Regions from separate parts of the Homo sapiens genome. Here all the other regions are linked to region 4. Evidence: promoter capture Hi-C in 16 types of primary human blood cells and fetal thymus (Javierre and others, 2016). All regions are on one chromosome and are shown on one strand. The core of a region is centred on a gene start or on the middle of the fragment in contact, and the rest is flanking DNA. Distances in the headings are between cores, read along the strand shown. Region 1 holds the start of ZNF134 (zinc finger protein 134). Region 2 overlaps ZNF550 (zinc finger protein 550). Region 3 holds the start of ZIK1 (zinc finger protein interacting with K protein 1). Region 4 holds the start of ZNF418 (zinc finger protein 418).

Region 1 (6,399 bases), core at 3,346-5,845, 320 kb after region 4:
ATAATAGAAGAGTCTCTGAGCCTCATCCAGCAGCTCCCATTCCTCCTAAGAGAAGTAAACAAATAAATCCTTGAAGGTCACATAGCCCTGTGTGAGGTGGACAACTGAGCTTAAGGACAGCCTCTCTCTCCAGGACTCCTTGTCACATCTAACTCAAATGAGATAACAGGCCCTGGTGTGATTGGTGCCTGTTCTCGACTCATATTCCATTAATCATTTTGTCCAGCTCAGAACAGGCAAGTGGACAGATAAAACACCATGGGCCTGGTATGTAGGACCCAACCCTTCTCCTATCAGCCAGCTCCCTGGGGATCAACAGATTATTCCTCATACACAAACCTGAGCTAAGCATTCTTTCAGAAACCCTCCATACCAAAGCTCTGGGCTCATGAATTCACACTCCATCTCCATGTGCACATCACCCTTTTGGCTATACCTCCTTTACATCTATGGACACCCACAACACTGGTACCTCCATGGCTTCCCCACATGCAAATCTGCACACAGCATCCAGAGAATGCTTGGATAATGCATCCAGGATTACATCTGGTCCTGATCAACGGCCACACTGCCATGGGTTGCCCTGAATCCACCTATTAAATCTTCCCCTCCTGGCTCTATTTCATGGGTCAATTCAGCAATCCAGAACCATGTGCAGATCCCAGATAAACTCAGCCCTTTTCTGCTTTGTTGTTGTACTACTGAGGTCAGTCACAGGCTTCTCAACATTTAACTCATTCAAAACCTACACTCACTGGGCACCTACCCCAAGCACAGGGATTCTGCCTACTGACCCAATCTGTCCCTGGGCTAATTCACTAGCTTGACTGAAACTCCACAGGTCCCACCAAAGGTCACCATGGAAGCCTGAGGAGCACATAAAGAGCTGAATAAGCACTGGCTCTGGCCTCACTGCCACCTCACTTCTATTACTACAGTACTTCACCTCACATCCACTCTCTGCCTGGAACGCTTTGCCACCTGCCTGACCCTATTATTCCCCTTCCTCCCAGGGACATTTCCCTCCCTCTTCTAGACTCTAAGATGGCCCCTACCTCTACCCTGCTGTGTCTGCCCTTACAGTGTGCTGATGGCACTGTCACCATGACCTAAAGATTCTCTCTCTAAATTGGAAGCAAAGCTCCATCCTGATCCACATGCTGGCTGCCACCCTGTGGATAGCTCCAACCTGAATCCCTTCTCTGAACTTCAGATCTCTGTGTCCAGCTGTCTACTTGACACCTCCACTCAAGTGTCTTTGGAACATGGTAGATTCCACATAGCCAAACTGCACTCCTGATATTACCTCTGAAAGGTACTCCTACCACCAACTTTGTCACTTCAGTTGATGGCATCTTTATATCTTCTCAGACTAAAAAATCCAGGGTCTTCCTTCACCCCTTGCCTTTTCTTTCTCATCTTCCACATCAGAAAATCTGGTTGGTCCCACTTTAAGAAAAATGATTCAGAATCCATCCACATCTCCCACCTCTACAGCGACCACTCTGGTCCAACCTGAACTGTTGCATTAAGCTCCTCAGTGGTATTCCTTCCTTCATCCTCACTCCCACAGTCTTTTTTCACTGTACAGAGGAAGTTGGTTAAGACCAAAGTCAGATCACTCCCTCCTAGCTCCAAACCTGCAGTGGCTCCCAATTCTCTCAGCATACAAACCCAGATCCTCAGGCTGCCATTTCTGGGCTGAATCCTGTCCCTGCTGTCTGATCCCACCAGACATAATGGAGGCCTGAGGTTCCCTGAACACTCCTAGTTTAGCCTTAAGTTAAGTATTTGCACATGCTGGTTCCTATGCCTGAGATAATGTTCCACATTTCATCCCATTGCTTGCCAGAAATAGAAACCCTTCCACATAATTCCAAAACAGAATTTACAACACAGAGCTTTGGGTGACTGCAGGACCTCCAAGAACGGTAGGCAGAAGGGACACTGAAGAGTCCCAGAACACTATCATTCTCCACACTGAGTTGCTGAGATAATGGGGGTGTGTTGGGCTAAGTGAGGGCCTGAGACAATCTACTCTCATCTAGGTAGGAATCATAAGTTTCTGCCACCATGGCAACCTCACAAGAGGAGGGAAGCTGGGAGTGGCAGGTTCCCACAGTGGGATCTCATCGACTGAACTGTTTCCCTAAGCCCTGCCTACCCTGCCCTTTGGCAGGAATGATTTTGGGTTACCTCTCTAACTTCAGATACTCAGATCTCAGTGCTGGCTCCCACCAGCTGTGTGAACATAAAGACCAGCGTCTGAGTGTCCTCATCTTAAAAGTGGGGATAATAATGGCACCCACCTCATAGGGCTACTGTTTGTATCAGGCTTGTCTGTACATCTCAAGTGCCTTTGAAACAGCTACTACTATCCATGCAAATGAACTGATGAGTTTTTGAAAAATTAGGTTTGTTTTGCCTGCTTTAAAGCTTTTAAGAAAATTTGGTTAAGATTTTTCCATTGTAATAAAATACTTCAAGGCAACTTAATATTTTGACCAATCATTAAGTGCTAGTATAAATTTCCCTTACTTTGTACATACATTTTTTAGTTCCTTCTGCGTACTTGCAAGGTGTACACTAGCCCTTGCACTAAACCAGCCTACCTGATACATATTCCTCTGAAGGGGAGCTGCAGTGATCCTTCATTAGAGATGTTCATCAATTCTGCTTACCTGAGGGTTTGGGTAACTGAGGCACCAATGCACTGGTTGGGGATGGGACTGCTCCACAGGCAGCGCCCATGAAGGCATGCTGAGCCTGTAGGGTGGCAAACCTACTGCATCCCTCACCTTGGTCTCCAGTGCAGGCCAGGCTACTTATGCTCTACAGCCCTCTCCTCTTGCTGACACTATAAGATATAATAAAATTCCTCTTCAAAGGTTTAGCCTGTTAACTTCCTTGTTCTTTGTTCTCAAACCTTTCTTGTTCTCCATGCCTCCTTGCCCCTAGTTACTATAAACAACCTTCCTGTAAGCACTAACCAATAATTCACATCTGTTCCCTTACTCACTTTGCACCCATTGCCCCCGCCAAAACCACACGTCCTACACAACTCACATGTCCCACCACTGTAACTCACCTTCCCCTTCCCTCTTCCTTATTTGGAAAATACTCACAAATACCCAATTGGCTCAGCTTAGATTAAGCGGTCCGACCCCAGCCCATGGGGGAGTGACACAGAGGAAGGTAGGGACTATGGGTTAGAGATAAAAACCCCTTCCCTCCTTTGTTCAGTGTGCTCTTGGGATCGTGATTAACACAGGCAGCACACTTGCACAGAAGTAAATTGCCTTGCTGAGAAAACTTTTGCCTGAGTGCTGGTTTCACTTTGCAGCACCAAGCATTGACTTCCAACAACACCATCTAGAATGCTTTCACATGCCAGGACCCCTCCTTTCTGGAAGGAATCTTAAGTGTCCACCCCTTCATCCCTGGCCTTCCACCCTAAACCCACCTCTCACTTCAGAGACCACACAAAATAACTTCCTTGAAATTCCACCCTCTAAATCTGATCTACTACAGGCTTTGACCTTATGCCTCACCCATTGAAGTCTCTAGCACAACTCCCTCTCTAGAACCCCAGACCTGCATGTTCAGCTACCCGTGATGAACCTCCAGTGCAGAACACCTTAGATTCACCAAGTCCAAAACCCAATTCCTGATGCCCCTGAAACGTGCTCCCTGCTGTGACTTACCAATTTCCATTCTTTCACACGTTCAGGAAGGAAAACAGGCCAAAAAAACCCTGGATAGCCCTTTCCTCCCTACATTCACTCACGACCACATCTGATGCGGCAGGAAACCCCATTGGTTCCATCTTTAAAAATCTACCCAGAATCTCATGACTTCCCCACCCAACCCCTCCTGCCACTGCTCTGGCCCAGCCACCACCGCAACACTTCTGGAGTTTGTTGCAGGGACCTCCTCAAACGTCTCCTTGCCTCCATCCTCATCGTTTCTACCTCACTGTAGTCGGTTTCCTCCTCAGCAAACATTGGAATACTTTAAAAATCCTTTTTCGGATCCCTTCCCTCCACCATTCAAAACCCGCCATGGCTCCTATCGTCCTCGCAATGAAGGAGCAACTTCTCCCCTCGACATTGCAGGCCTGACTACGGTTCACACACGCTCCCGACTGCTACGGGCTCAGTCCAGCTCCAAACCTATGCTCAGGCTGCCCCTCTGCCAGTCACACTCGCCCCCACCCACCAGCGCCCCGCTGCCTTGGACACTGGGGCCTGCGCTGCAGGGACTCAGACAGGCGCTCCTCATTTGGAACTTCAGGATTTGGGGCGGGCGAAAGTCTGGGAAAGGCAGCACCCACCTGCGCCGGGCCCATCACCGCGGCCGCCGCCATCACAGTTCGTAGACCACCCGGAGCCGCGAGGGGGTCCCAGGTCGCGGGACCCTGGCACCGCGGTCGTCCGTCCCCGGGGGCGCAGGCGGGGTCTTCGCTGGCGAGCCACTCCGCAGAGCGAACAGCGACTTCTCCCGCACCCTCCCGCTTCCGTCACCTCGGAACCGCCCAGCAACCCCGAGCTTCTGCTCCGATGGTTCCACCTAAGAGCCGACAAGATGTCCACCGCGAGGAAGATACCGGAAGTCCCGCCCAGAGAGCTTCCGTCCGCAGGGAGACGCCCCTAAGAGTGCCGCCGCCGGGCGGCGCACAGGTTTCTGGGCAATGCAGTTCTCATGTGCACTTGGCCGTGGTGACGGCTAACTCCCCTGCACGCTGGGCAAAGGCCAAATGGTACTGCGAGGGGCGCTGAGAAATTATGCCCTGAGACTCTGAGGTCAGGGCGTGGCTTCGCTCCTTTTAAAGGACCCTCAACCAGGTCTTGTGTAGTGAGGTCTGCAGGGATCCCCGAAATATTGGGATATATTCTTACAGATGTTCCCTGAAGCCACACCACCAAATGGACACACAACATCCAATGTCACTCTGAGTCCACTCATAGTTCAGTCAAATTTCCTTCATTTAAAAAATATGTGTACTGTAGAGGGAAGCTTTGAGTCAGTTTTGTGAGCCTCAGTTGGGTCAGAGTTAACAGAGAATTGTCCCCAGGCAGGGCCATGGAGTGGAAGAATGGTCTCCAGACAGTGGCTATGGAGGGATGCTGGAGCTCCCTGAGGCAAGTGGACTAATATAGAGCTCTTCCTCTGGTTTCCTCAGAAAAAAAATACCTGAGAGAACCATGAGGAGGAAGACAGGCGAGAGAAGGTGGTCAAGGAAGGCACCTTTCCTGCCTGTATGGTCACTAATGTCCAACCAAAGGAGAAATATTCTTTTATCCAAATGAGAGTTCCTAGCCCAAAAGTTGAGATATATCTATTTCCTTTTGGTGATGTTTCTTATCTGAAAAGAAGAACCATTATAAATGCTTTTATATGCCAAGACAGGGGCTGAAAATGTGGTGTCTGAACCCAGAAATAAAGATTTGGAAAATTGGGATCAGATTTCTTGGCTGGGAGGTGATTCTCATTTCACCTGCAATTACACCGACAGTGTCTGAATTGAGAATTGAGATTTATTTATGGTTTTAAAAAAGAAAAGGGCGAGTGTATGGGGAAAGAAAGACAAAAACATTTGTGAATTGTTTAAATTACTCAAAAGTTGTTTTGTGTTTTTTTTTTTTGAGACGGAGTCTTGCTCAGTCGCCCAGGCTGGAGTGCAGTGGTGCGACCATAGCTCACTGCAGGCTCCGCCTCCCAGGTTCACACTATTCTCCTGCCTCAGCCTCCGGAGTAGCTGGGATTACAGGCGCCTGCCACCATGCCCGGCTAACTTTTTGTATTTTTAGTAGAGATGGGGTTTCACCGTGTTAGCCAGGATGGTCTCGATCTCCTGACCTCGTGATCTGCCCGCCTCAGCCTCCCAAAGTGCTGGGATTACAGGAGAGCCCCCGCGCCCGGCCAAATTACTCAAAGTTAATAATTCTGTAGTTATTCACAGATACATGACGAAATGGACCTGGAGAAACATATCTGTGATAAGTGAAAACGGTTAAGATGACAGCAAAATTTGAGCAGGAGACATTGAATTCTGAGAAGTGAGCAAATGAAGCTGAGCACACAGCTGTGTTAGAACTATGACTACAAGCAGCGTTTAGTCTCCAAAATGTAATTTTATTTATTTATTTAATTTTGGAGACAGGATCTCACTGTGTTGCACAGGCTGGAGTGTAGTGGCACGATCATAGCTTGCTGCAGCCTCAAACTCTTGGGCTCAAGGGATCCTCCCACCTCAGCCTCCCAAAAAGTTGGGATTACAGATGTGAGCCACCATGCCAGGCCTCTTTTCATTCTTGAAAACACTCAATAATACCTGGAAGGAGAAGTAAAGAAAACATTTAGAAAGTGCTATCAGAATATTAAGGTGAACAGGGATGC
Region 2 (6,195 bases), core at 1,389-3,888, 380 kb after region 4:
AAGGGTGCCTGCCCCTCTACACCTGTGGGTATTTCTTGCAAGGTGGAGATGAGAGACTGAGAAAAGAAATAAGACACAGAGACAAAGTATAGAGGAAGAAAAGTGGGCCCAGGGGACTGGCACTCAGCATATGGAGGACCCACACCAGCACCAGTCTCTGAGTTCTCTCAGTATTTATTGATCACTATCTCTACCATCTCCATGAGGGGGATGTGGCAGGACTATAGGGTAATGAGTGGGGAGAGGGTCAGCAGGAAAACATGTGAGCAAAGGACTCTGTGTCATAAATAAGTTTAAGGAAAGGTGCTGTGCCTCGATGTGCACGTAGGCCAGATTTATGTTTGACTTTACCCAAACATCTCAGTGCAGTAAAGAGCAGTATTGCCGCCAGCATGTCTTACCTCCAGCCATAAGGCGGCTTTCTCCTATCTCAGTAAATAGAATGTACGCTCGGGTTTTACACCAAGACATTCCATTCCCAGGGACAAGCAGGAGACAGATGCCTTCCTCTTATCTCAACTGCAAAGAGGCCTTCCTCTTTCATGAATCCTCGTCAGCACAGACCCTTTATGGGTGTCGGGCTGAGGGAAGGTAAGGTCTTTCCCTTCCCACGAGGCCACATCTCAGGCTGTCTCAGTGGGGGGAAACCTTGGACAATACCCAGGCTTTCTCGGGCAGAGGTCCCTGTGGCCTTCCGCAGTGCATTGTGTCCCTGGGTACCCGAGACGGGAGAATGGCGATGACTTTTACCAAGCATACTGCCTGCAAACACATGTTTACCAAGGCACATCCTGCACAGCCCTAACTCCATTAAACCTTGAGTCAATACAGCACATGTTTCTGTGAGCACAGGGTTGGGGCTAGGGTTACAGATTAACAGCATCTCAAGGCAGAAGAATTTTTCTTAGTACAGATCAAAATGGAGTTTCTTATGTCTTCCTTTTTCTACATAGACACAGTAACGGTCTGATCTATTTTTCTTTCCCCCACACTTAGCTGCTGCTGTTGCTGTTATTGTGGTTGGATTAGTATCAGTCATTTTCCTCCATTCTTTTAATATGCCAGAGTACTTACTCTCTGCTTCCCATAGTCCTCGTGGGATTGCCATTGTTTGTGTCATCTTCAACAGCTTCCCCATAGAAGGCTTTTCTCTCAGGCACAATTGCATTGTCAAAAGGCAGTATCTGCCTCCCCTTTGAGCCCTGCACGGAAGTCAGCCCAAAGGAGACCTAGTTGATTCAGACCTGGATCTCTCTGCACATTGACTAGAGACTGAGTGACAGGTTCTGATCCTATGCGACAACACAAGGCCAATAGCATTACTTCTGTTTGACTTTCCAGATGTTGGTGACCTTCAAGGATGTGGCTGTGACCTTTACCCGGGAGGAGTGGAGACAGCTGGACCTGGCCCAGAGGACCCTGTACCGAGAGGTGATGCTGGAGACCTGTGGGCTTCTGGTTTCACTAGGTAATGACTCACCTCTCATCCCTGAGGAGGACCCTAACCCTGATTCTTGGCCAGGCAAAAAGGTCACTGGAACTGCCCACCTTTCTCTTGACAGACCTTTCTGTTCCCACCTCTTCCTGACTGGTCTCCCTTTGTCTGCATCAGAGATTGTCGGGGTAGAAAATGTCCTTTTAACACAAACCCTCACTCCAGTGCTCAGCCCATTCTGAGGTCCTTAATCAAGATTGCATAAGAAGGAAGCTGATTGGCCATCCTGGTGGGGTCAGCTGTGGCCACAGCCCTATTAAGCAGGGGCCATGGGTGATGGGCTGTTCTTAGAGAAAGGGGTGAGTCAGGCAGCCCCCCAGAAGACATTTGTCCTCAGTGCCCCTCGGATATCTTCCTAAGCAATACAATCTCTGTAAAAAGGCATCTGGGTGCCTGCATGGTCATTAGTTGTTTTCTGATGCTTGATATCCATGCTCTGTTGATCCAGGAGGTGTTTTTAGAGGGTACACAGGAATGTCCTCAAATGGCATGGTTTGATACCCTGATAAAGCCATTCCTTTTACTTTCTCTGTCCAGCACGCTAATTCTTGTCATAAAAGTCTCATCAGCTGGGTGTGGTGGCTCACGCCTGTAATCCCAGCACTTTGGGAGGCCGAGGCGGGTGGATCACGAGGTCAGGAGTTCAATACCAACCTGGCCAAGATGGTGAAACCCCGTCTGTACTAAAAATACAAAAATTAGCTGGGCGCAGTGGTGCGCGCCTGTAATCCCAGCTACTCAGGAGTTTGAAGCAGGAGAATCGCTTGAACCTGGGAGGCGGAGGTTGCAGTGAGCCAACATTGCGCCAGTGCATTCTAGCCTGGGTGACTGAGCAAGACTCCGGCTCAAAAAAAAAGAAAAGTCTCAGATCAGCGCTGAGTCTTTCATTTTCCTTTCACTCCCCCAGTGCAGTTCATTTCTTTTTTTTAACAGAGGGGACAACCTCCAACTTAGCCCTAAGAAACATACAAGGGTTTCCTGGGACTTAGTGGCATTGTTTTGATTTTGTTGTGTTGTGATTGCAGACTTCTATTTGTAGGAAGGGAAATTGACTTTCTCACTTACCAGAGCAAAACAAGGTTCCCTTTTAGAATACAATATTTAACAAAAGTGGGTCAGGATAAAGAAGTTATTAGAATTGATGGCACACTCTGAGTTCAGTTGGGAAGGTGGACATCAATCCATAGATGACAACTGAAATAAGTTCTAGAAAGAAAAATGAGGGGAATTTAGGAATAAATAAGCAGGATGTCATAACCTATTGTGGGAGTTCCAAAGAGGGCATCTCAGGAAGTGACAGTGGAGCTGAGACCTGAAAGCTGAGTAGGAGTTAGCTGGATAGAAGGAGGTGGAAGAGGGTAACAGTGTTCCAGGTGGAGGAACCAGCGTGTGAAAAGTGACAGGGAGCTCAGCTCTTGGGAGAGCCAAAGGATCATCTGATTCACCTTTCCCACAGCCCTGTCCCAGAACTCAAAGCCAGGCATGTAGCACACATTGGTGGACCTTACTGTGACATGTCTGAAGGAATCCTGGGCTATGGTTCAGAATCTGCCAGTCGATGTTTCTGTGGATCCTTGTACCTCAGTCATTGGTCTTCTATACAGAATCCTCCTGTCTTTTACTCACCACATCTAGTGGAAAGCATTTGGCTGCATATAACAGAAAACCAGATCAAACTGGCTTCACCTGGAAGGAAATTCACTAACTCGCCTGATGAGAAGCCTGAGGTGTGGTTGGCTCCAGGCTTGTTCGGTGCCGCAGCCCAGTGACGCCATCAAGGATGTCTTGGTTCTCTGTTCCTTCTTCTTGGTTCAGGCTTCTGATTGTCCTCAGGCTGGCTCCTCATAGGGATGCTGGGTGCTGCAGCCTTGACTGGGGCAGCAGGCCCCCATGTTCAATCCATCCTCCCACCTTGGAATAAATGCTTTCTTTTCACAATGAGAATCCAGCTTTGGTCACCTGCCTAATGAAGACTCTTGCATTACCAATTTATTTCAACCACTGGTTTTTCTTTTCCTTTTTTTTTGAGATGGAGTCTTGCTCTGTCATTCAGGCTGAAGTGCAGTGCCATGATCTCAGCTCACTGCAGCCTCTGCTTCCTAGGCTCAAGCAATCCTCCCAACCTCATCCCCTTGAGTAGCTAGGACCATAGGTGCACACCACCATACCTGGCTAATTTTTTATATTTTTGGTAGAGACGGGGTTTCACCATGTTGGCCAGGCTGGTTTAGAACTCCTGGCCTCAAGTGATCCTCCTGCCTCGGCCTCCTATAGTGCTGGGATTACAGCATGAGCCACCATGTCCAGCCTCAGCCAGTGGTTTGCAGCCCCATCTGGGCACCAGAATTTTGGGGGGCACATTTTGGAAGTACTGATGCCCAGGTCTCACACGAAGAAATTTTGTTTCATTTGGTTTGAGGTTGGAATCACGCATCCCCAAGTGGTTCTGAAAGCACGAGGTGTTTGAGAAGCAATGATTTAGATTTGTTAGAAAATGCCTCCTGGGGCCGGGTGCAGTAGCACCTTGGGAGACTGAGGCAGGAGGATCACTTGAGGCCAGGCACTCGAGACCAGCCTGACCAATATTGTGAATCCCAGTCTCTATTAAAAATACAAAAACTAGCCAGGCATGGTTTTGCATGCCTGTAATCCCTGCTACTCGGGTGGCTGAGGCACGAGAATCCCTTGAACCTGGGAGGCAGAGGTTGCAGTGAGCCGAGCACTGCACTCCAGCCTGGGCAACAGAGTGAGACTCTGTTTCAAAAAAAGAAAGAAAGAAAGAAAGAAAATGCCTTCTGGAGGAAGCAGCACACCTTTGCCGTGTCCCATGGCTGTCAAAGTGTTGTGTGCCTGAACAACGTTGGCTTCCATAGACGGAGGTCATGGGCAGTGGGTGTTGTGTAGACAGATAGCACTACCCTCCATGGCAGTTGTAGCCCAACAGTGGGATTTGTGCCTGTCTTTTATCTCCTTGGCTGCCATAATAAAATGTCATGGATTGGGTGGTTTAAACAACGAGAGTTTATTTTCTTATGCTTCTGGAGGCTGAGAAGTCCAAGATCAAGGTGTCGGCAAATTTGATTCCTATTGAGACCTCTCTTCCTGGCTTGCAGATGGCTGACTTGCTGTGTTCTTACAAGGTGGAGGGACAGAGGAGAGATCTCTCTCTGTTTTTATGAGGCCATAATTTTATCAGATTAAGGCTCCACCCTTGTGGCCTCATTTAATTTTAATTACCTTCTAAAGATCCTGTCTCCATATACAGTCACGTTGGGTGTTAGGGCATCAACATATGATTTTTATGGGGAACACAGCTCACTCAGAGCAATGCCCTTGATTTTCAGGGCTCACATCAGCATTTTGCTTACTTTGGGAGCAGCTGCATTCATGTCTGGACCCTGTCATGAAGTCCTAGGCAAGATGGAGAGACTTTCATTTTCTCATTAAATTACCCCTATTCTATTTCTTTTGCTATCAACAGGGCATCGGGTTCCCAAACCAGAGTTGGTCCACCTGCTAGAGCATGGGCAGGAGCTGTGGATAGTGAAGAGAGGCCTCTCACATGCTACCTGTGCAGGTAAGCAGCCACCAGCTGGTCATGTGGAGTCATGGCAGTCTTCAGATAATGTGAGGGCACCACTGCCTCTGAATTTCTGTGTGAAACTGCTCATTGTGGCTTTCCGGGGGCCTGGTTGTTTCTGACTCACTTTGGGTCATAGTGTCCATCATCAGGTGAGCACTGAGCCACACAATTATTCAGAGACACAGGTACCTTTTGCTGTGAACAGGAATCTTTATGGTTGCTCTGGCTCAATCCAGCTGGTAGAAGGGGAACAAGAAGAAGGGGAGAAGTCATACCCAGTTGTACACATACTTGACAACCACATAGTCTTGACAAGAACTAGGCATTTGGCCACACCTAGATGCTCAGGACTGACAAATGTGATTTGGCTATGTGCCCATGGAAAAGAATTAATGGGTTTGGTTTACATCACCTCAGACTCCTCTACTCAACAAAATCAGAGTGATATAATTTCTGTGTCATTGAGTTGTTAGAGGATGTAGAGATAACACATGACACTGCTTAGTTCAGTTCCTGGTCCATAGGATCAACAAATGTCAGCTAGTTAGTATTATGCATGAACAGTTTTAATCATCATAAATGTAATGTCATACATTTCTTTCTGGACTCAAGAGAAAGGGGACTTTCCTCCCCTTGATATTACTGTCTGCATTATGCTGTGAATCCCACTCTTTTCCACCCTCTCCGTCCACTCATCCATCCTCCAGTTAGACCATCAGAGACTCGGAAGCAGCCCTTTGCTCCATATCTTCCTGCCCCTCTTGCCCTGAGAAACACCAAGGTGACATTTGGCCTTCTCTGCCCTACATCTGTGCTGATGAGTGTAGCTGGAGCCATTTGCCTTGTGGATTTGTATCACCACTGAGTCATGGGCTCTCCCCTTGGGCTTCTTGGCCAGCCCCATCTGCAACCCTGTGTTCCAAATACCTCCCTTCCCATTCCCTCAATCCCACATCTCCACTTAAGTGTCTCAGAGGCACCTTTAGCTCCTGATGCCTAAAAAGACACTCAGTTCAGAGAATGTCTTACCATCCAAGCAGGTTAGAAGGCTGGAAACACACCACATAGCTCCTGGACTCCACCTACCTTCATCAAACCCAGCATCCATTCATCCCTA
Region 3 (6,903 bases), core at 3,150-5,649, 350 kb after region 4:
CAGCCCTGTCATGATGGGGACAGGTCACTCCACAATCAACGCCTCCACAAGTTCATCCACCCACGCAATCATCCCCACCTTAAGGAAATACAGGCCCTGGTGACACAGATGCCCACTCTCTTTTCATGGTCCCAATGATCACTGTATCCTTCTACAGCACCAACCAGGAGGTGGGCAGGATGCACCACATCTAAACTTTGGGCCCGGTATGTAGGAGTGTATCCCTTCTTGTCAGGCAGTTCCCCAAGGGTCTTTCAGATAGTGCCTCCTAGACACAATCAAATGTGGCTTCACCTTTGACCCTTAAGTCCTCAATGCCAGGGGCCTGGGTCCTTCAGTTCACACTCCCTCTCCATGTACACATCATTCTTTGAACCATACTCGCTCAGTCTCACTCCCACGGCTACCTCCACCCCTCTGCCTGCCAAATTGAGACATCATCCAGTGCTACACAGACCTCTGATGGTTCCTACTGTCATAGACAGCCCCCACCCTGCTCTGAAGGGCTATCTTCCTGACTCTGTTCCTTGCTTCAACCTCAGCCACCAAGAATCACCTGATGTCAGACACCGATGGCCGTCCTCCACTTGTGCTGCACTTGATGTCCCCTCTTCAATCAACAACCTTCTTCTCACCTCTTAACCCTCATTCAAAATCAGTGGCCTCAGTGGCACAGACTCTCAGTGGCTCTCTACCTCCAACCTAATGACTCATACAGATGAACACTTGTACTCCTAAACTTATTCAACTGCTTGACTCACACCCTCCCCAGACTCACCAAGGGTCACAACAAATTCCTGGCGAGTTTTTACCATGGTGAATAAGCACTAGTCCTAGTGTTTTAGTCAGTTTGGCCTGCTAGCATAATACCACAAACTGGGTGGCTTATCAACAACAGAAATTTATTTCTCACAGATCTGCAGGCAGGAAGCCTGAGATCAGAGTGCCAGCATGGTCAGGTTCTGGTAGGGACTCTTTCCAGGTTGCAGACTGCTGACTTCTTGTATCCTCACTTGTTGGAAAGAGCACTAGATAGTAGCTCTCTGGCCTCTTTGTTTAAGAGCACTCACTAATCCCATTCATTAGGGCTCCACCCTCATGACCTAATTATCTCCCAAAGGCCCAACCTCCAAATACCATCACACTGGAATTAGGCTTTAAGCATATGAATTTTGCGGGGACACAGTCCACTGTACCTGGCCTCAGTGTCATCTTCTACCAATTATTTCTTTATCTCCATGTCTGTCTTATGTCCCTAATGCCTTGGAAGCCTTGACCACTTATCAGATGATATGATTTGGCTGCGTCCCCACCCAAATCTCTTCTTGAATTGTAGTTCCCACAATTCCCATGTCATGGGAGGGACCTGGTGAGAGGTAATCGAACCATAGGGGCAGGCCTTTCCCATGCTGTTCTCATGATAGTAAATAAGTCTCACAAGATTTGATGGTTTTATAAGGGGGGAGTTCCCCTGAACAAGTTCTCTCTTGTCTGCTGCCATGCAAGACATGCCTTTCACCCTCCACCATGATTGTGAGGCCTCCCCAGCCACGCGGAATCATGAGTCCATTAAACCTCTTTTTCCTTACAAATTATCTAGTCTCCAGCACATCTTTATCAGCAGCATGAAAATGGACTAATACAGTAAATCAGTATGAGTAAAGTGGGGCTGTGCTGTAAAGATAACTGAAAATGTGGAAGCAATTTTGGAATTGGGGAACAGGCAGAGGTTGGAACAGTTTGGAGGGCTCAGAAGAAGACAGGAAAATATGGGAAAGTCTGGAACTTCCTAGAGACTTGCTGTCTTTATCAGCAGTGTGAAAATGGACTGATACACCAGATCATCCTCTTTCCTACAATCTTCCCATGACCACTTTTCTCTCACAACTGTTTGTGATGCTCACCACCTCTACCACGTGTCCAAGCATGAGACACAGTCATAGCCCCAACCTTCCCTTTTCTGTTTTTTTGTTTTGTTTTTGAGATGGAGTCTCACTCTGTCACCCAGGCTGGAGTGCAGTGGCGTGATCTTGGCTCACTGCAACCTCCGCCTCCTGGGCTCAAGCAATTCTCCTGCCTCAGCCTCCCTAGTAGCTGGGATTACAGGTGCCTGCCACCACGCCTGGCTAATTTTTGTATTTTTAGTGGAGACGGAGTTTCACCATGTTGGCCAAGCTGGTCTAGAACTCCTGACCTCAAGTGATCCGCCTGCCTCGGCCGCCCAAAGTGCTGGGATTACAGGTGTGAGCCACCACACCCAGCCCTTTCCTGCATTATAAATAGCATTATCTTCAAGACCAGGATTACCCACTCCTAATTGTGACCCATAGCTACTCTGGGCCAAACACTGGCCACCACCTTTTGGATTTCTCCATCTTAAACCACTTCCAGAATTCTAGATGTACATGGACAGCTACTCACCTGATGTCTCCATATATCATTCTTTGGAATATCTCAGACTATGATAATAGCTAAAGACAAAACTCCTGTTATCCTTAATGAAAATTAATTGGCTGGGCATGGTGGCTCACGCCTGTAATCCCAGCACTTTGGGAGGCCAAGACAGGTGGATCACCTGAGGTCAGGAGTTTGAGACCAGCCTGGCCAACATGGTGAAACCCTGTCTCTACTAAAGATACAAAAAAAAAAAAAAAAAAAAATTCGCTGGGCATGGTAGCACGGTAGCATGTGCCTGTAGTCCCAACTACTCAGGAGGCTGAGGCAGGAGGATTGCTTGAACCCGGGAGGTGGAGGTTGCAAAGAGCCAAGATCGAGCCACTGCACTCCAGCCTGAGTGACAGAGTGAGACTGTCTAAAAATAGACAAATAAATAAATAAAATAAAAATAAAATCAATCCTATAACATGCTATTTGATGGAGATTCCATCCTTCCAGATGCTAAATTCAAAATGCCTGGAGTAATGCTTGACCAGTATCTCTTACCCTCAAAATCTGAAAATGCAAGCAGGCCTAATTAAAATTCTGACCCAGAATCCAGCCACTTCTTCTACCTTCACAGCCACCACACTGGTGAAGCCACTATCAAAACTCACCTTGGCCACTGCAGTAGCCTCCTCCCTGGTCTTTCTATCGCCTCCATCACACCCACAGAGTATTCTCTATGCTGCATTAACAGTGAACCTGATGAGACCAGTGTCAGATAACCTCCGTTCTCTTCTCTAAACCTCCCATTGTTCTCATCACCTCCAGAAAAAACACCCAATTTCTCAGAGCCATTCCAGGCCTGAGTCCTGCCCTGCTGCTCTGAGTTCCCATGAGAAAGAAAGGAGAGTTGTGTTTCCCTGAATCAGCTCAGCTTCACTGCCAACCTTACACATTATTGTACGTAGGCGGGGCAACCTTTCACACCTCATTCCATTGTCTGCCAGCAATAAGAACGTCTACAAATAACCACCAGTCTAGAATCAGGATGTCAAGCTTCCAGTTTGTGAAGAGTCCTTAGGTCAAAGAACTGGATGGTGGCAAAAAGATCCATGAAAAAACCCCAGGATGGGGCCAGGACCAGTGAGGGCCTGGGACACCCTCCACTCACCTTTGTGAGGTCCATATGTGTTTCTGGAGACACAGTAACCTGTGGAAAGCCAAAGATCATGAAAGGCAGGTGACCATACAGGGCTCTACGGATTCAGGCTTCCCTGGATTCCTGTCCAGGCCAGAGCCAGGTGGACTGAGGATGCCTGCATTATTTCTGAGCCTCAGCGTTCCAGTCCTCAGTGCCAACTCTTAGCAACTGTGGGACCTTGCACAAGAACTCAACCTCCCTGTGCCTCTGTGTTATTCCATTCTATTCTAGTCTAACTCCATGAGGTTTTTGGAAAACTTCGAAAGACCTAACTCAGACCATATGCCGCTTCTGTACACAACCCTCCACGGCTCCTAGCATCCTAAGAATTGAGGGAAAACTCCTCACCTTGGCACTCCAGGTATGAACCTTCTTCACTGTGTCTCCAAGAGTTTAGAAACGCTGGTCCCTTTGCCTGTAACCCTCTTCCGTGCCCCATCACCCAAGTTCTGGAAATAGGGACCCCACCCACGAGCCCCCACTGTACTGGACATGAGGATCTCGACCGTAGTGACCCAAGAAGGCACTAATTTGGGGATGGAGGGTGAGGCCCAGTAGAGGCAGCGCTCACCTGAGTCGGGGCCCTCAGCGCGGCCGCAGCCATCGGAGTCTGTGGGCAGAGCGGGGCCGGGACCCGACAGCTACGGGCGGAGGGACCTAGGCAAAGCCGTCAACCCCGCCGCCGCCGACCCTTAGAACCCCCACTGTTCAGCGGGAGGACCCCTCCCCTCGCGCCTTCCGACTGTCGCCAAACAAAGCGCTCCCAAAGCTCTGACGGTCTGGATGCACCCAAGCGCTGCAAAAATGACCGCCACTGAAGTGATACCGGAAGTCCCTCCCCGACCCATTGGTCCCAAAGCGGAAACGACCCTTTTCTCAGCGCGGATTGGCTCAGCATCCCTGCGGCTGGAGACAAAACCTTCTGGGTTCTGTAGTCCCCGCTGGTCCCCAGGGCTGAGGGAAGGATGCTGCCGCCCAGCGTCACCTCAAACAAAAGCCAAGCGGCCGCGCTGGGGGCGCAGGGAAATGGCGTCGCCACAATGCAGGAGAGGGCTGGGCCTTGTCGCTCCTTAAACAGGCCGCTGGTCGATTTCTGTGGTCCCGTCGCGGCTGAGCGCCCACGTGATTAGAAGCATTGATTCAGGCTCAGGAAGCTGAGGCCAGATCCACACCGACGCGTATTCCATACGTATTCGACGCTCCTGCGGGAGCAAAGGAGCCTCGTGCCCCTCCCTTGCGGGGTCAAGGCGTTCGAGGCCGTGCCGGGGCCAAGGCTATTCTGTGAAAGGAGCGACTTAGGTGTCGCGCTGTGGGCACGTGTCCCGGGAGGCCACGTGGGGGCCGCGCCCCCGGCTGCTCCTGCTCTGACCTGAGCCCTTTGACTGTACCCAGAGGCGGGAGGCGGGGCCGAGACGTCCCATGGGAAGGGGTTCTCCGTAGCTCCACCCCGGGGGACGTCTCCTCCAGGGGGGCCGGGCGAGCTGGGAAGGCCCCAGAGCCGCCGAGGAAAGCGCCTCTGCTTCCCTGAGTCCCCTCCTGGGTCTAGGAGCCGTTCCTGCGTTTTCTGACGCCCTCTCCACCGCCCCTCGGCTGAGAACTGGGTCCAGATGAGCCTTGGACCCCGTTGAAGACGTCTCCTACCTCATCTCCCACACCTGCTGGGACCATCTCCAACCGCCCTCAGGGCAGTAGGGAGGTAGGCGGGTTCCCAGGGCACCCCAAGCGGTGGCGTACAGTGGTAGGAACAAGGCCTCTGGAGCCCAAGAATGGGATTTAGTCCCCGAGGGGAAGTCCATGCTCTGCCTTACAGCGGCTGGTATGGGCTTCTGGGGGCACCCTGAGACTCGGCCTGTAGGGATACTCATAATGGCCTCCATGAAGGTGCAGGTTTAACCACTGGACCAGTCTCATCTGGCCATCCTCTGTTGGTAACATAATGTCCAGTTATTTTGCAGGCACAGAGCTAAAGAGTTGCAAGTTACACAGCTAGAGAATGTGCAGAAAAGAAAATGTCAGGCCCAGCGCGGTGGCTCACACCTGTAATCCAAGCACATTGGGAGGCTGAGGTGGAAGGACCACTTGGGCAACATAGCCAGACCCCGTCTCTACAAAAACTAAAAAATTACCCGAGTATGGTGGTGCACCTGTAATCCTAGCTACTCAGGATGCTGAGGTGGGAGTATCGCTTGAGCCCAGGAGATCACGGTTACAGTGAGTTATGATTATGCCACTGCACTCCAGCCTGGGCAACGGAGCCAGACCCTGTCTCAATAAATAAATAAGTAAATAAATAAATAAATAAAAAGAAAAGAGAAAAGAAAACATTGACCCAACACTCGGAGCTGAAGTCTCACCTACCAGACTCCACCCTGTCACCACAGGAAACCAAAATATCAGGCTATGGCTGGAACCCAAGTGCTGAAACACTTCCGAAAGCAAGGGGTCTGTTGTCTCTGAATGTTGGGTGATAACAACCCCATCCCCGCCTTGCCATCAATAGATTTGTTTGAAGTCCTTCCAATCAAAATCCACCCTTCCAGTGCTTACCAACCTGTCCTTCCTAATCCTTAAAAGCTGCCCCAAACCCCATATTGGGGAGACAGATTTGAGCTGGACTCCTGTCTTCTTGTTTGTCGACTTGCAATAAAGGTTTGCTTTTCTCAAAAACCTGGTGCCATGGCATTGGCTTCTGTGTGCGTCGGACAGCAACCCTTTTCCTTATTAACACTGGCACCCTCTAGGTGACACGGTTGTGCACCTCATTACCCTCTGGTCCCAGAGGCCAGCAGCCCCCACAATGGCCACCTAACACCTGCCCTCACCCTCACTGTCCTTTCAGAGTTGCCACATCACATCAAACATGGCTCCCCAAACTTCAAGCATGTGTGTCCATCTAGGCATAGAACTAGCGGAATTGCCTGGATAACTTGGGGAGGAGGGATAGCCTAGTTCGGAAAACCTGCTCTGTGTGGCATGCCCAGGGGACAAATGACCCACCTACTCCTGAGGCCCAGTCCTTCAGGGAGAAGCCCAGCCAGAGATGAGGGAGGCTGCCAGTGGTCACAAAGCAGTAATAAATTCCATCTATGGCTAAACTTATGTGAGACCAACAGTCAATAAGTACCTAAAGAGAAAGCTGAAAAAACATTGAAGATAGAGTGCAAGAAAGTGTGAAGCCCTTAGGATGTGGATGGGTTGTTTTGTGTTTTCTTTCTGTGTTTGTCTATTTGGCACAGCTATTCAAGTATAGCTTGGCAGCGTCATTCATATAGTCCACTAACTTCGATTACTGTTCACCCAGTTAATCCCAAGGGATTCCG
Region 4 (6,686 bases), core at 3,509-6,008:
CAGGCATGCACCACCACCCCGGCTAATTTTGTATTTTTAGTAGAGACAGGGTTTCTCCATGTTGGTCAGGCTAGTCTTGAACTCCCGACCTCAGGTGATCCACCCGCCTCAGCCTCCCAAAGTGCTGGGATTACAGGCGTGAGCCACCGCACCCAGCTTTTTTTTTTTTTTTTTAAAGCTTCCACATATGAGTGGGAATGTGCATGTTTATGTTCCTGGCTTATTTCACTTAAATAATGTCCTCCATTTCCATCCATGTTGCCTCAGGTGATAGGATTTCATTCTGTTCTTTGAATAGTATTCCTTTGTGTGTATAAACCACATTTTCTTTATCCATTTATCTGTTGTTGGACATCTAGGTTGATTCCATATTTTGGCTATTGTGAATAGTGCTGCAGTAAACGGGGTGTAGATGTGTCTCCAATGTGATGATTTTCTTTCCTTTGGATAAATTCCCAGTAGGGGGATTGCTGGATGATATGGTAGTTGTGTTTGTAGTTTTTTGTTTTGTTTTGTTTTGTTTTTTGAGACAGAGTCTCACTCTGTTATCCAGGCTGGAGTGCAGTGGTGTGATCTTGGCTCACTGCAACCTCCGCCTCCCAGGTTCAAGCAATTCTCCTGCCTCAGCCTCCTGAGTAGCTGGGATTACAGGTGCGTGCCACCACCCCTGCTAATTTTTGTATTTTTAGAAGAGACGGGGTTTCACCATGTTGGTTAGGGTGTTCTCGAACTCCTGACCTCGTGATCCGCCTGCCTCAGCCTCCCAAAGTGCTGGGATTACAGGCGTGAGCCATCGCGCCTGGCATATTTGTAGTTTTTAGAGGGACCTCAATACTGTTCTCCATAATGGCTGTACTGGTTTGCATTTGCACCACCAGTGCATGAGTTCCCTTTTCTTGTATTTTGTTGGGTTTTTTTTTTTTTTTGAGATGGAGTCTTTCTCTGTCGCCCAGGCTGGAGTGCAGTGGCATGATCTTGGCTCACTGCAACCTCCGTCTCCCGGGTTCAAGCTATTCTCCTGCCTCAGTCTCCTGAGTAGCTGGGATTATAGGCACGCACCACCACGCCTGGCTAATTTTTGCATTTTTAGTAGAGACAGGGTTTCACCACGTTGGTCAGGCAGTCTCGAACTCCTGACCTCGTGATCCACCCAGCTCGGCCTCCCAAAGTGCTGGGATTACAGATGTGAGCCACCGCACCTGGCCATTAGTTCCCTTTTCTCTGCATCCTTGCCAGCGTCTGTTTTTGTCTTTTTGATAATAATTATCCTAAACGGGGAGAGTGATACCTCATTGCGGTTTTGATTTGCATTTCCCAGATAGTGATGAGTGTGTTTTAATATATTTTTGACCGTTTGTATGTTGTCTTTTGAAAAATGCCTATTCAGATCGTTTGACATTTTTAAATTGGATTGTTTGAGGGTTTCTTTGCTGTTGAAATACTTCAGTTGCTTGTGTATTGTATTCTGGCTCTATTTTTTTTTGAGACGGAGTTGCTCTGTTGTCCACGCTGGAGTGCAGTGGCACGATTTCAGCTCACTGCAACCTCTGCCTCCCGGGTTCAAGCAATTCTCCTGCCTCAGCCTCCCGAGTAGCTGGGATTACAGATGTGCGCCACCACACCCACCTAATTTTTGTATTTTTAGTAGAGACGGGTTTTTGCCATGTTGGCTAGGCTGGTCTCAAACTCCTGACCTCAAGTGATCTGCCCACCTTAGGCTCCCAAAGTGCTGGGATTGCAGGCATGGCCACTGCATCTGGCCTCTTTCTTGATTCTTGATTACACTGTCACTGAGTGGGTTCTACATCAGAAAAAGATGAATAGGCCAGGTGTAGTGGCCGAATCCTATAATGCCAGCACTTAGGGAGGCCGAGGCAGGAGGATTGCTTGAACTCAGGAGTTTGATACCAGCCTGGGCAACATGGCAAAACCACATCTCTCAAAAATTAGCTGGTTGTGGTGGTGCATGCCTATAGTCCCAATTACTCCTGAATGCTGAGATGGGAGGATCACTTGAGCCTGAGAGGTTGAGACTGCAGTTGAGCCTTGATCATGCCACTGCGCTTCAGCCTTGGCAACAGAGTGAGACGCTGTCTCAAAAAGGGGAGAAAAAAATAGAATGTGGAGATAAGCAGATTTCAAATGTGAAGTGAAAAAGAAGCTTTTCATTGTTCAAACCATATTGCTAAGTGAGAAAAAGTACAGATGTGTATAGAATCTATGACTTTTTTCCTATAAGATGAAAAACTTGTAACATAATTGACACACAGAATAATGAAGAAAGGGAGACACAATTCTATGAGGATAATACTATACTGCAGATTTCACCTTCTGTTTTTACTTATTCATTAAATTATTTATTTGGAGACAGAGTCTTGCTCTGCTGCCCAGGCTGGCCTCAAACTCCTTTGCAGAAGTGATCCTCCCTCTAAGCCTCCCAAGTAGGTAGGTGAACAGGCACAATTTTTCTCCACCTTGGTATTGTTCAATGTTTTTAATAAAGAAAAAAAAATCTCAATGACAAAACCAACAAGGGGGACATTTTTAATCACATGCTGACCTTAATTCCATCTCTTCGTAGACATCACTGTTAAAACTTCTGGGCCGGGCGAGGTGGCTCACACCTGTAGTCCCAGCACTTTGGGAGGCCACCTCGGGTGGATCACCTGAGGTGAGGAGTTTGCGGCCAGCCTGGCCAAAATGGTGAAACCTTGTGTCTACTGAAAATACAAAAATTAGCTGAGTGTGGTGGCAGGCACCTGTAATCCCAGCTACTTGGGAGGCTGAGGCAGGAGAATGAATTGCTTGACCCAGGAGGAGGAGGTTGCAGTGAGCTGAAACTGTGCCATTGTACTCCAGCCTGGACAACAAGAGTGAAACTCCTTCTCAAAACAAACAAACAAACAAACAAACACCTGTAAAGTCAGCTGGGAGCAGTGACTTATGCCTGTAATGTCAGCATTGTGGGAGAAGGAGGCAGGCAGGTCAGAGGTCAAGAGTTTGAGACCAGTCTGGCCAACATGGTGAAACCTTGTCTCTACTAAAAATACAAAAATTAGCTGGGCGTGGTGGCAGGCATCTGTTATCCCAGCTACTTGGGAGACTGAGGCAGGAGAATCGCTTGAACCCGGGAGGTGGAGGTTGCAGTGAGCCAAGATGGCGCCACTGCACTCCAGTCTGGGACAGAACGAGACTTTGTCTCAAAAAAAAAAAAAAAAAAAAAGAAAGAAAAACTTCTGTGAAGTGTAAATTTTTTTCACCATCCACTCATGTTTCAATTGACCTATTTCTGTCATCGCAGTTATTAGATAGTCGTTGGTAATAAGTTTCTGTAACTGGCATTTCACCTGTTTTTCTGGTATCATATTAGTTCCTCATGCAGAACACTCCCCGCTGTCACAAGAGAAACAAATGATAATCACTTCCCAGGAAAGATAACAAGCTCGATAATTTAACATACGCCTAGTGTCTCCAGGTGGAGATTATCACCACCATTACCAATACCAAGCTGAGATTTCTCTTTCATTGTTCTTTACCTGAGACTGACTTCAAGTTCCTAAAATGAGTTGAAAATATAAGTTAGAATACCAAGTAAGGGATATTACATGAATAAATGTTTTGCTGAATGAATTGGACACAATAATTGACTATATAAGCAGGAGAGTTGTTTTTCCATGGGAACGACTGATTGACCTTTGTACTCTTTCTTTAGCCTCTCCTCTATCTTCCTTGGCATGGTCCTATCTGGATTAGTTCTCTTTTGTCCCTGGCAGACTGAAAAACCAACTCTAATGCCTCAGAGTGAGGCAGGAGAATAGGGAATTAGGGTAACCAAGAATGAAGGCATAAGCAAAAGAACAGCAGGTGCAGCTAGTTCTAGGCAAGATGAGGCAGCACACAGGCCACGTCCTCACTCCTGTGGTAACAAGACAGAAGTCTCCACTTCAGCCTCTGATTGGTTGTGCACCAGTCCTTCATAGGATTGGAGGCCTTTAAAGAACTCTTGGGGTATTATAAAATTCTAGCTTATTCATGGCAAAAACCGCAATTACTTTTGCACCAACCTAATAAAACCCTAAAAAACATTGTAATCGGGGTTCTTGAGCCGCTTGGTCGCCTGCTCCCACACCTACATTCCACTTCTGTGGAGTGTACTTTCCCCTCAATAAATCTGCGCTTTCATTGGTCCGTTCTTTCGTTGCTTTTTTTGTGTGTTTTGTTCACTTCTTTGTTCAATGCGCCAACAACTGGACAACTCACAGCCAAGACATTCTATCCGGTAACAAGAGTGCATTCATGTGAATTATAACAGAGTAATGTTTATCAGCCTCTGCTTCCAGTGCAAGCATTCTGTGTCTAAACGATTGTATAAAGTGATACACGAATTTGGATTTGTAGCCTTTGGGGGCCTTCACAGTATTTTTAGCGCCTGGGAGCTTGAATTTACAGAAATGTGAATTAATATTTTTGCAAACACTTAGGTGGTCAGTTACAAACAGGGATTCCCCAGGAATCTCAATATGGCCTCTAAGGAGGGGCGAGACCATCCTCTGCCCTAAAAGGGTACGCGCTTTAATGAACCCCCTGAGGTAGGGCTGGGACTTCCCTGCAGAAGCGCCTTTGGGAAGCGGCAGCTTTACTACCTTGGAACCTGGGGAACTACATTACCCAGAAAGCTCTACATTGAATGACAGCGCAACAGAACCAGTAAGGGCTCAGAATAAAGGCGTTTCTGTGTGCGCACGTAACGTAGTGGCGGGATTCTCAGCGTTCTCTGGTAGCGACCATTTTGGTTAATGTTGGGTGTGTTTCTGCGGTTTGTGAGGTGAGAGGCGCTGGAGCTATGGGTCCGAACCGCGGTGTCTGAACCCAGAAGGTGAAGAGTCCTTCTTGCTGCACAGAGGCAGATCTTAGGCCCCGTAACGGCGCCCGCCGCTCCCGGCAGTGCTTTCCCCGCGTACTCGGGATGGCGGCGGCCGCGCTGAGGCTCCCGGCTCAGGTAATTGTGCCTTCCCTGCCCTCAGGTCACCTCATCCTAACCCGAATCCTGAAGCAGCGAGAGAGCGGCGACTGTTCACAGGTCTGCAGCCCGGACCCGGCGTCGGGACACTGAGGCGTTCGCGGGAGAGGTCCTTGTTTCTGACACCTGTGGGATGCGGTGGGGAGAGCGACAGGCACAGGGACCGGCGCGGGCTATGGCCTGGAGGACAGACCCGGGAGGATGGAACCTGGGGTCCACAGGCGCCTGTAGGGAACAACGTGTGAGGCGAAGCTTCTCCTGGAAGAGCAGGCTGGGGGCTGTGTATTCGCTGTGAAGACGCTAGAAGCCATGGAGAGTTTCGAAGAAAGGAGGGATGCGATCCAAGTCCAGGCTTTTAAGGTTTCCCAAAGGCCAAAGGAAGAACATAGTAGAGGAGATGAGGACCTTAGGGTTCTGGGAGGTTGACTCCTTTGTTGATAGATCACATAGGTGGTAGAGATGACATTTTGCACTGAGACACGCAGGTCAACCAGTCTGAGGTCACCTGGCTCCAGCGATAAGAAAAGGTTCAAGGAGACCTGAGCTTATCAGATCCCCTTTGTAACGTCTGCTTTCCCCTCAGACACTCCTGGCTACAAAAGCACGTAAAGAACCCACTGAGGGGGTCGGGCAAGGTGGCTCCCACCTGTAATCCCAGCACTTTGGGAGGCCGAGGCGGGCGGATCACCTGAGGTCGGGAGTTCGAGACCAGCCTGACCAACATGGAGAAACCCCGTCTCTAACAAAAATACAAAATTAGCCAGGCGTGGTGATGCCGCATGACTGTAATCCCAGCTACTCAGAGGCTAAGGCAGGAGAATTGCTTGAACTCGGGAGGCAGAGGTTGCGGTGAGCCATTGCACTCCGGCCTGGGCAACAAGAGCGAAACTCTGGCTCAAAAAAAGGAACCCACAGAGGGAATTAGAGGGTGTTCCATTCCCTCACTGGCCTTATTCCCCATTCACATGTTCTCTAGCTTGTGATGTCCTGGGACTCTTACTTGCCATTTTTTCAGTCCTTTGATCTGAGAACACTGGAGAAACCCTAAACCCAGAATCCTAAGTCCATGACACAGGATGTATGGAGGTATTCCCATTTCTGTCAACCCATGTAAACATACTTTGAAGGTTAACTACAGAGTTGGTACCAGGTCATGAAATGCTTAGAGGTAAAAATTCGGTGGGGAGGCAAGAGGGCGGCGAGGAGGTGATGTTACCACAGTCCCATTTGTCTGCAGGCATCATCTGGCTGCAAAGAAGAGAACACACTGTGTTTGAGGGAGGAGGAAGGAGGATCAGAGTTTAAACTCCTGCCATAATGCAGGTGAGGGTTACTGGACCATATTAATGAGTAAGGAGCTGTGGCTGGATTCAAGATTCACAGTTTGTAAAATGGCAACTAGATTTTCCTTTTTTTTTTGAGCGGGAGTCTCGCTCTATCGCCCAGGCTGGAGTGCAGTGGCACGATCTTGGCTCATTGCAAGCTCTGCCTCCCGGGTTCACGCCATTCTCCTGCCTCAACCTCCCGAGTAGCTGGGACTACAGGCGCCCGTCACCATGCTCAGCTAATTTTTTGGATTTTTTAGTAGAGACGGTTTCACTGTGTTAGCCAGGATAGTCTCAATCTCCTGACCTCGTGATCCATCGGCCTCGGCCTCCCAAAGTGC

What was found. Contacts are between HindIII fragments. The CHiCAGO score rates a contact against its expected background, and 5 or more counts as called.
Region 1: a contact is called between the fragment with the promoter of ZNF134 here and the fragment with the promoter of ZNF418 in region 4, in 2 of 17 cell types (megakaryocytes and total B cells). The highest score is 6.0, in megakaryocytes.
Region 2: a fragment that was not itself captured here is called in contact with the fragment with the promoter of ZNF418 in region 4 in 1 of 17 cell types (fetal thymus); the score reaches 6.3 in fetal thymus.
Region 3: a contact is called between the fragment with the promoter of ZIK1 here and the fragment with the promoter of ZNF418 in region 4, in 2 of 17 cell types (erythroblasts and fetal thymus). The highest score is 5.6, in erythroblasts.

The regions. Positions count from the first base shown.
Region 1 is chr19:57,612,438-57,618,836 of GRCh38, reverse strand. It overlaps ZNF134 (zinc finger protein 134), which reads right to left and starts at 4,595. Exons shown (of 3, transcript NM_003435.5): 1 at 4,334-4,595. It also overlaps a transcript of ZNF530 not described here. RefSeq lists a silencer at 4,341-4,390 and an enhancer at 4,521-4,700. The HindIII fragment of the contact is 2,580 bases long and covers 2,439-5,018 here.
Region 2 is chr19:57,551,504-57,557,698 of GRCh38, reverse strand. It overlaps ZNF550 (zinc finger protein 550), which reads left to right. Exons shown (of 4, transcript NM_001397372.1): 2 at 1,342-1,468; 3 at 4,977-5,072. Among named protein-coding and RNA genes, the nearest start is that of ZNF550, 5.3 kb to the left of the region's middle. The HindIII fragment of the contact is 8,378 bases long and covers 1-6,195 here.
Region 3 is chr19:57,581,641-57,588,543 of GRCh38, reverse strand. ZIK1 (zinc finger protein interacting with K protein 1) reads right to left here and starts at 4,399. Exons shown (of 4, transcript NM_001010879.4): 1 at 4,155-4,399; 2 at 3,554-3,592; 3 at 1-5. The coding sequence starts at 4,187. RefSeq lists enhancers at 4,563-4,662, 4,359-4,890. The HindIII fragment of the contact is 4,281 bases long and covers 3,441-6,903 here.
Region 4 is chr19:57,933,474-57,940,159 of GRCh38, reverse strand. ZNF418 (zinc finger protein 418) reads left to right here and starts at 4,758. Exons shown (of 6, transcript NM_133460.3): 1 at 4,758-4,999; 2 at 6,258-6,343. The coding sequence starts at 6,338. RefSeq lists enhancers at 4,791-4,880, 4,473-5,355. The HindIII fragment of the contact is 3,111 bases long and covers 2,164-5,274 here.